Linked DNA regions of Homo sapiens: region 1 is linked to region 2. Evidence: promoter capture Hi-C in human tissues and cell types (Jung and others, 2019). All regions are on one chromosome and are shown on one strand. Each heading gives the region's core, a stretch centred on a gene start or on the middle of the fragment in contact. The rest is flanking DNA. Distances are from core to core; before and after follow the strand shown.

Evidence for each region. Contacts are between HindIII fragments. The study calls those that stand out against the background at their distance.
Region 1: a fragment that was not itself captured here is called in contact with the fragment with the promoter of ZNF704 in region 2 in 1 of the 25 tissues and cell types used here (heart left ventricle).

Annotation. Positions count from the first base shown.
Region 1 is chr8:80,237,924-80,242,725 of GRCh38, forward strand. It overlaps MIR5708 (microRNA 5708), which reads left to right and starts at 3,466; the gene lies at 3,466-3,550. RefSeq lists silencers at 2,812-2,871, 2,882-2,961. The HindIII fragment of the contact is 5,704 bases long and covers 1-4,802 here.
Region 2 is chr8:80,873,346-80,878,737 of GRCh38, forward strand. It overlaps ZNF704 (zinc finger protein 704), which reads right to left and starts at 1,436. Exons shown (of 9, transcript NM_001033723.3): 1 at 1,226-1,436. RefSeq lists a silencer at 115-315. The HindIII fragment of the contact is 4,011 bases long and covers 1-3,446 here.

The DNA.
Region 1 (4,802 bases), core at 1,254-3,753, 630 kb before region 2:
AGGCTGAGGTAGGAGAATCGCCTGAACACAGGAGGCAGAGGCTGCAGTGAGCTGAGATGGTGCCACTGCACTCCAGCCTGGATGACAGAGTGAGACTCCATCTCAAAATAAATAAATAAAACACAGAGAATCAAGAAGGGAAATGATGTTCATTTGTGAATGTTCCAGTGCTTTCTGTGGGCCATGCATTGTGGCAAAACCATGACCAATGTGAAGAGGAGCCTTCAGCCAGCTCACAGTGCAGGGGAGTGGGGAGGTGAAAACAACAAGGAGACATTTTAGCTGGGGAAGAATAGCACCAAGAGAGCGACCCCTCACCTTTGTACTTTAAATGTGTTCCACTTCATTGAATGGGGGAAATGAGCCTGGCAGAAGTTGGAGATGAGACTAGTACAGTGTGGCCTCTGCACCCAGGGCTTGGAGTTAGAAGAGGGATGGGTGTTCTGGATCCACAGCAGTTGATGGAACTTGTGCCCTCCCCTGCCCATCCCCCAGCTGCGTTGGAAATGCCACCACACTGGGATCCCTGGCTAACACAGCTGAGTGAGACACTGAGGGAAGTAGCAACCCACCCTCCCATCTCGAGGAAATGTTGCTTTATGGTGCACGAGTGGTGGTGGCTGCAGTGGAGCAGGAGGCTTAGCCTGAGCATCATTCCATTTTGCCAGATTTCAGTAGCCGCATCAGAGCTCTGGTTTCAGTAACCATGGTGTCAGCTGTGGGACTCTGGAGGCATCCAGCACGAGGAGTGTAGACTCTTCCAGCCTCAGTTCCGGCTTCTGTAAGTGAGGTAAGTGTATCTGGGGCTACCCCTTCGGATATACATGTGCATTCCTGGCACTCAGGTTCATAGCAGGGGAGTGGCCTCTGTCAAGGGTGAAGAAGCCCATCAAGGAAGATGGGACACCATGTGGAATGACATCATTTATACCCCAAGCAAAGGAAGCAGGATGTGTGGATAACATATATATATAAATATAAAATATTACATTACAATATAACATAATCAGTGTAATAACAAATATGTATAGGACACTGTGGGTGGACCTAATCAAGGCCCTGTGTACAACTAACCAAGTTGACACTGCACATCTCCAAGCCACAGAACTGTGCAGTGTCTAAGGTGGCCCTGTACCTAACCAGTTATATGTTATTAGCCCCATGTTAAGAGGCAGTGGCATATTGTAGTGGACACTATGCACATTTAAAAGTATCTGCTGTGTGATCTTGGGCAAATTCTAATTGACGTTCTGTAAAATGGGAATATTACCTATTTTAATGTATTGTCGCATTGTGATAATACATGCAATGGCTTACCCAGCACTATTTCAGATACATAGTAAATTATTTTTAAAATGTTAGCAGATGTATTTAAGCACAGGGAAACAAACCCAGAAAGAATGATTTGACCACATCAAAACCAATGACAAAAGTGAAGCCCGAGCCTGAATCTTCTGATTTTCTATCCACCAGTGGGTTTTCTCCCAAGGAAGCAATTCCCAAGACAAGAATTGTTTGAGAAAACTGCAACTGGATTTGCCTATACATGCAGCAGTAAACTTCAGTGAGCACCTGACCCTATTTTCAGGAGCAGCAGAAAGGCACATTTACCCCACACAGGTAAGAAGTGGTTTTCCTCCTCTGTAGCCCTCCTTTCTCCGGCCTTCCATTGGAGATCGGAAAGTCTTAGGAAAATGAGAGAGTATGGGTCACTATTTTCTATTTTCAAGTTTTCAGATCTTTAATCTGCAAATTTAGGTGATCCCAGCTCCGGAAAGAGCATCACACTTTTTTTTTTTTTTTTTTTTGAGACAGAGCCTCAGTCTGTCGCCTAGGCTGGAGTGCAATGTCACAATCTCGGCTCACTGCAACCTCGACCTCCCGGGTTCAAGTAATTCTCCTGCCCCAGCCTCCTGAGTAGCAGGGACCACAGTACAGGCAGCGCCACCACGCCTGGCTAATTTTTGTATTTTTAGTAGAGACGGGGTTTTGCCATGTTGGCCAGGCTGGTCTCCTGACCTCAAGCTATCTGCCCAACTCGGCCTCCCAAAGTTCTGAGATTACAGCATGAGCCACCACGCCGGCCACTTTTGACTTTTTTGACCAGCAAGCTTCCATCTGGAGCCTAGGCTCTCTTCTTTAGGTGCCCACAGCCCCAGGGGTGCACAGGCTGCTGAGCAGCTGCGGGCCCGCGGGGCTGGGAGCCCACCAGGGCCGCGTGTCCTGTGTGGCGCACAGTCCCAGTCATCCTAGGAGGCAGCCCTGAGTTCACACCTTCTCGTTCCTCTTTGTCAGAGCTCGGTTAGTGAGTGGGACACTAAAATAGCACTGCAAACATAATGAGAAAATGAAAACTGAGTTTACCAGAACTGCTTTCAGAGAAAGAGCTGGAAGCATTGGAGGGAATTCTTTGATAAGCTGCTTTGAGATGTGGTGGTGGGGGTGATACTCTCATGGGGGCAAACCTAATCTGTAACAGCAAAAGATCACCAAGCTGCCTTCCAAAAATGTCCCTGGATTGCAAGGCTGTGTTTTCCCAAGAGAATGGAAATTTGCCTTCAAAGGAGAGTTTGGTCACTGTCCCCAGGGAGGCTTCTTCGCAGTCTTTCAACATTCGGCAGGAAACCTATCAGTGTCCGGGTGACTACCTATTAACCTGCCCTGATTATTAACTGTGCCCAGGTCGAGACAGCATCAGGGTTGTGGTTCTACCAGGCCGTCTCTTTGCAGTCCTCGGCTTCTGTCAAAGTTGAACGCCATCCACCTCCCTTTTGGTTCCAGCCACAGAGGCGTGCCTTCCACAGAGGCGTGCTCCGCAGCGCCGCCCTCCAGCACTCCGCGCATCGGCCCAGGGTGCTGCCTGGCTCCCAGGCGCCGCCCTGCGGCCCCGCGCGTCCGCCTTTCCCTTCAGCCAGCCCCTGTGCTTCCCAGGACTCTGCTCTGGGCTCTGTCCTCCGCTCAGGATTGAGAGTCAGGGAATACAGAGAGTCTCTAGCCACTGTTGTTGGAGAGACCGACAAGGAGATGTCTCAAATGCCTTCGGGTTCTCTTCCCTTTTTTCTTCTACCACGGCTGCAGGCTGAGAGAGAGTCTCAATGACAAGAATATTGTGATTCAAGGGAAGCTTCAGTCAAGGGTAGGGAGGAAATACAGCAGAACACTGGAGAGAAAAAGAAATAATCTGGCATTAAAAATCAAGTTGCTTTTTGTTTGTTTGTTTGTTTTGAGACAGGGTCTCACTTTTGTTGCCCAGGCTGATCATGGCCCATTGCAGCCTCAACCTCCCAGGCACAAGTGATCCTCCCATCACAGCCTCCTGAGCAGCTGGGACCAAAGGTGTGCACCACCAGGGCTAGCTAGTTTTTAAAAATATTTGTGGAGATGAAGTCTCACTATATTGCCCAGGCTGGTCTCTAATTCTCTGCCTCAAGCAGTCCTACCACCTCACCTTCCCAAAGTGCTGGTATTACAGACATGAGCGACTGTGCCTGACCAAAAGTCAACATTAAACAACAAATCTTGGCCAGGCACAGTGGCTCATGCCTGTAATCCCAGCACTTTGGGAGGCCGAAGTGGGCAGATCACTTGAGGTCAGGAGTTGGAGACCAGCCTAGCCAACATGGTGAAGCCCCGCCTCTACTAAAAATACAAAAATTAGCTGGGTGTGGTGGCACATGCCTGTAATCCCAGCTGAGGCATTAGAATCGCTTGAACCTGGGAGGCAGAGGTTGCAGTGAACCAAGATCTCACCACTTTTATCCAGCCTTGGCAACAGCGAGACTCTGTCTCAAAACAAACAAACAAACAAACAAACAAACAACAACAACAACAACAAAAAATAAATGTCCACAAGATTGCAGGATCCCTTCCAAGGATCACACTTATTGTGAGGGTAGTGGGCATAGGGACTTGGCTGGAAAGAATGAAAAACAGAGACTGTAACCCATTCTTGGTGAATAAGGTTGTCTTATACCTGTATATCCTTTCCAACAAACCTGAAAACACTTGACAGGACTTAGATTTGATTTCTGAAAATCATTCTTTTTTTTTTTCTTGAGACAGAGTTGCCCAGGCTGGAGTGCAGTGGTGCGATCTCAGCTCACTGCAACCTCTGCCTCCCAGGCTCAAGCGATTCCCCTGCCTCCGCCTCCTGAGTAGCTGGGATTACAAGCGCCTGCCACCGCACCCAGCTAATTTTGTATTTTTAGTAGAGATGTGATTTTGCCATGTTGGCCAGGCTGGTCTCGAACTCCTGACCTCAGGTGATCTGCCCGCCTTGGCCTCCCAAAGTGCTGGGATTACAGGCGTGAGCCACCAAGCTGGGCCCTGAAAATCGTTCTTTAAGTTTGAATATGTGTATATAAAAATTACTCTTTTTATTTTAATGATTAGCTTTCCCCCCAAATTTCTCTGCTTTTTCAGTTACAGATTTTTTTCCATTTTCTATTTTCCTGTGCCTGTTGTAATTTTCTATTTTCTTCTTAGAAAACATATCTTTCTGGACAGGCATGGTGGCAGGTAACTGTAGTCCCAGCTACTTGGGAGGCTGAGGCAGGAGGATCCCTAGAATTCAGAAGTTCAATGTCAGCCTGGGCAACATAGCAAGATCCCATCTCTAAAATAAATATAAATATATATGTGTATATATATAATATACATATATATTATATAGCCCTTTCTTTTGGAACTTGGAATTCTTCAAATTATATTTTGATTTTTTTTTCATGTACTGGCACTATACATATTTGGATTTGGCACCTGCTATCTTTATTTATAATTCAGGATCCCAAACTCTTTGTCAG
Region 2 (5,392 bases), core at 186-2,685:
GGGCCCAAGGCGCAGGCAAATCAACAGTTCCTCGCGCTGCCCCGCGCGGCCGCCCGCGCCGCCTGACACACCCCTCCTGGCCGGGTCTCTCCCCGGCGCCGCTGACCGTCCTCGGCCAGGCGCCTTGCCCCGGGGCCCGGGCCCGTCCCCCTCCCCGGGCTGGCGGGTCCCACGCGCGCCACCGCGCCCAACACGCACCTTCAACGCGCCCCGGGCCGGGCCCCTGGGGACTGCGTGGCCGGGTCCGAGGGGCACGAAACGCTCCTCGCCGTCCTCGTCGTCTTCGTCGCCGTCCACCACCTCGACGACCACCTCCTCGTCCTCCTCTTCCTCGTCGTCATCCTCCTCCTCCGCGCCCCCTCGGGGCTTCTCCTCCACACGCCCGAGCCCCCTCCGCCGCCTGCTCCCGCCCTCCTCGTCCTCGTCTTCCTCCCCTAGAAGCAGCAGCACCGGCGACGAGGCGGCGGCGGCGGCCCCGGTGGCCCGAGGGGGGCCGGTCCCGGCGCTGCGCGGCGGCGGCGGCAGCGGCGGCCTCCAGCTCTCCGGGGCGGGCGCCGGGGCCGGGCCCGGGACAGGGGGCGGGAGCCCGGGTAGGGCGGCTTCCTTGGCGGGCGCGGGCGCCGGCCCGGCAGGCTGCAGCGCGGCGCCCCCCCGGCGGCTGCCCAGGCTGGAGCGCTTGGCTAGACGCCGCGCCTGCATGCCTGAGCGCGGGGTTGCGGGCCGCGGCGCGGGGCCGGAGAGTTTGTCACCTCCTCTTCCTCCTCTGCCTCCGCCGGTGGCCGCAGGGCCGGGGACTCGCGGCCGCAAGGGGCTGCAGGAGCCGCCGGCCAGGACCCGCGGCTGCCACTGGCTGCAGAGGCGCGGGCGCCGCCTTCGCTGGACCGGCCGGCGGGGACGCCGGCGGCCGGCGGCTACGGCGGGGCGGCGCGGCGGCCGCGGGCGGGGGTGGGTGTGAGCGAGCGGCGCGCTGCCGCCTCCGCCGCCGCCGCCGCCGCCCGGGAGCCGCGGGCCGCGCTGCGCTCCATGCGGCCGGCGGCCGAGCCCGCGCGCGCCTCTCCCGGCCGGCTGCGCCCGCGCGCTCCGGGCCTACCGCTGCCGTGCCTCGGCGCGAGCTGTTTGTGTTGTATGTTTTCCACCACCGCCCCCCTCTTCGCGAGCCATTCCTCACAACCCTCCGGTCCCCCCGCTCAGACAAAACCCGGACTGGATTTTTTTTTTCTCTTACCCACAGTCTCCGAAAGTCTGGCGCTTCGAAGCAGTTGGCCCTGACACCAGGGCAAACGCTTAACCGCAGCCCATTCTTCCCTCCGGAGGGAGGGGAGTAGACTTCGCTGGAAGTAAGGTTGTCTGTCAAAGTTAGACTTTGAACGTAGAGATTTGCTACAAGTCATTTTAATGGACACTGATGTGCATGGCAGCTACTCCTGAGCTTGTGTGAAATCAAGGAAGGTGTACCAATCTGAGGTTTGGGATGAATTCCTAATATGAATCATCAGAGTCGCTTAGATTTTCGAAACACTGTTTCATGAGCGATTGTCTACCAATCTCACACTCTTTGAACGCACCACTCTAGGCCCTGCGATTGAGCTGCCTTGGCTCTGTGCTGAGTGTGTAGGTCTTTCAGCTTTTACTCCTGCTATTCTACCTTGAGTGCCTGATTTTAATGGCTGAATTCCAAGAAGCTTTCTGTTTGCACTGTCTGATCTGTAGACTCTCTTCTGGCATTGTTCAGGACTTTGAAGAAACAAATGGGTGGGAGTTCAAGATCGTTTGAGTTGGTTACTTAAGAAATTAATATGAAGTAAGACCAAATCTGGAAATCAAGCACATAACATGACTAATTTTGCCATTTTCTGACGATTTTTAGGTGTGATAAAGAAAATATATTTGCTATTGCGTGGGGTTAGGCTATGTAGTAAGTGGTATTTCTTCTTTTATTTATTTTAATTTTTATTTATATATATTTCTTTATTTTTCAGATGGAGTTTCGCTCTTGTTGCCAAGGCTGGAGTGCAATGTCATGGTCTGGGCTCACTGTAACCTCCGCCACCTGGGTTCAAGCGATTCTCCTGCCTCAGCCTCCTGAGTACCTGGGATTAAAGGCGCGCTCCACCATGCCATGCTAATTTTGTATTTTTCGTAGAGACAGGGTTTCACCATGTTGGCCAGGCTGGTCTCAAACTCCTGACCTCAGATGATTTGCCTGCCTTGGCCTCCCAAAGTGCTGGGATTACAGGTGTGAGCCACCGTGCCCGGCCTTAAGTCGTATTTCTTACATTCAAATCATACCCCCAATTCCATCCCTGTAGAGGAGGGCTGGGGAGGATCTTACGCATCAAATACCCTGGTAGGCACCTCCGTGGGGCCAGAATAAAAGGTGTATTCACCTTCAGTTAATTATTGTTGGACATTTAACATCATATGCTCTGTTAGACACTTGAATGGGGCTCATTAAATGCTCACTTATGGTGGCTTCCAACTGTTGAACAGGGATGATGACAAAGATTCTAAAATGAACTTTTTGTTCTCCCTGAATCAGATTAGCTTCCTGATGTACCTATTTCAGGTGATGAAACTCTCATTATAATCATTTGAGCCCAAAATAGCGGTATCATTTTAACTCCCTTCTCTACCTTATCCCTAGAGGCAATTGCCCACAAGTCCAACCCATTGTTCTTTCTAAAATGCATTTTGAATCCACCCCTTCCTTTCCATTCCCAAAGCTCTTACAGCATTTTGTGACTTCAAAAGTGGAAGTTTCTAACAGTTCTACACACCCATTTTCTCACCCACACACCCTCCCTTTCCCTCCTCAGATGCCACCACCAGATTTATGTTTCCGAAACCCCATTTAGATCACACCATTTTCTTGTTGGACTTTATATTTGTAAATATTCTGTTCAGGAATTCAGAGAGAAGAAAACAGAACATTAAGAGATGGGTGTGTCTGATCAAAGCATGGAATAGCAGGGGCTAGCCAATAAGTGAATAATCAGTATCAGCTAGAGTGTGCAAAGAATTAAGAAAGAACATTAAGGTGGTTTCATCCCAATTGGAAGAAATTTAGCTTCGTTGATTTGGGAGATGATTTTAGAGTGAGGCAGCAGGATCTTTCTCTGGCCATGAAAAGGAAAGATCGGGGCAAGGGGTGGGCAGACAGGTATGGAGGAGGTGGAGGAGGACAAAGGTGTGAGGCAAGCTGGCTAGTAGTTAGGCACATGGTCTCAGGAGCACCTAGGTCCGAATCCTGACTCTGGAACTTACCAGCTTTACTTTTACTCATCCTCTTTCTGTGCCTGTTTCCTCATCTGTGAAATGGGGATCATAGTAGTAAAGTTGTTTTGCAGAGTAATGAGTGAATAAATGCAATCAGCTTACAAGAGTGCCTGGGACAAGCTAGGGTTTATATGCGGGCTTATCATACTAAACATTGTAATGGTAGGTAAACAAGGTGGCTTGGGATACTCTCAGAGAATAACAAGGTAGCTCTCTTTTAAGTAAGCTCAGTAATGTCAGTAACTAGCAAAATGTGCTTTTAAAGACCAACAACTTGTCATCGGAGGACCATGGTCAGGCCAAGCATGTAGCTTTTTGTGCCTAAAATTGCTATAGATGAAAGAAAGTAAATGTTTTCCTGAGAACCTAGAGGAAATACAGAGTTAAATGAATTGGTGATTGGCATTTGTGACTTAGTGAAAGATGATACACTATTGTACATTCTTTTAAAATTGCTGTATATGCTTTGAAATCAGCTTATTGTTTCTCTTAGGCCACTTCAATAGACTTCATAGACATCCATTCCCTGGCCCCACATTGCTGGAAAGGCTGCCTCTGAATGGGAAAAAAAAAAAAAAAAAAAAAAAAAAAAGACCTGGCCTTGGCTTTCAAACCATTAAATGAAGGCTAATGTCAAAAAAGAGGTTTCACCCAAGCTGGGCTTTGAGGGATGAGAAGGATCTGTTCAGGCAGGGAGAGCAGCATTGTCTAGGCAAGTGCAGGCCACTGAAGACCACCCTCATTAAATCAGAGGACACTTAGTGGGAATAAAATCAAATTAACTCATCAGGAATCAAGAAAAGATCTCATGATGTGGGCACATGACACACTACATGCATGACATGGGCTCAGAAGTCAAAAAGTATCTTGTGATGCCAAGCAAGTGGGGAAGAGTCATTGCTGCTTCTTTCCCCCACATTCCCTAAGTGTAACACATTTTTTTCTTCCAAAACTGGGAGCGCTTGCCACTCAGAATGAGGAAATGTGCCTCTGAGCCATGGGATAAAGAAGGAGCCCCTCCAGAACAGTTGGATTGAACACATCCTCATCTAAAACATTTCATCGTTCATTCTGCATGGATTTGTTGAGTCCTGACAAGTGCCAGGTCTTGTTCTTGGTGCTGGCGTGCAGCAGCGAACAAAATAACCCTCCCTCGGGGAGGAAGCAGACAATAATCAAAGAAGATAAGTGAACAATATGATTTTGTGGAGGCATTAAGTGTCTACATGAAAAAGTAAGGGAAAAATAAAAGGAGGGGTAGAAGGTGCTGGAGGTTTAGTATAAAGAAATGTGCATTTCAAAGCGTATTTCTTTATATTAAAACAGACATAAGAATAGTGTGAAGTTTAGTGTGAACTTTGAATGAAAACTCGCAGCCCTGGACTCTGTCTTCTTCCTGCAGATAGAATCCATTCTCCCCTACTGTCCGCGTGCTTTGGTCAAAGTTTGAGAAGCACTGCTGCGGAAGAACGAGAGTAGGCTTTGGAGTGAGCATCACTCCCTAAACACATAGTAGCTGGCTGGCTCCTGTCTGGTTTCTTCAGATCTCCAGTGATTCTTAAACCTTTGAGTTCTGAGCCCTAAAGATAACTAAAACATTTTTTTTACATGTATCAGAAAGAAAGAGAAAGAAAGGAAGGAAGGAAGGAAGGAAGGAAGGAAGGAAGGAAGGAAGGAAGGAAGGAAGGAAGAAAATCAGGCTCAATTTGACATTATGTTCAGTGTTTTTTTAAAATTTAAGATTCAGCAAAATAATCATGTTTCCAAAATCAAGAGGTGTAACCATAGCCAGAACAAAACATATAACAAATTTGTACCCACTGGTGGTAGTTCTTTTTTGTCCCTGTGAAACTTTAATAGTTGGATTTGTTGAGATTAGTAGCTCCTTTTAAAAATTATTTTAAAAGTAAAAGTAAAATTTTGCCCTTTAAAAAGCTTATGAAAGTAAGATTAGCTTAGTTTTTCCACAGTTCTGGGAAACTTAAAAATGATTTCATTTGATGACTGTCATCCCACCGTATGAAAAATAGATTAAGGTTAAGAGAATAACTCATCTATTACAACCTTCAGGCTGAAAGCCTGTCTAAGTCAAGCATAATCTCCACCCAGATAAATG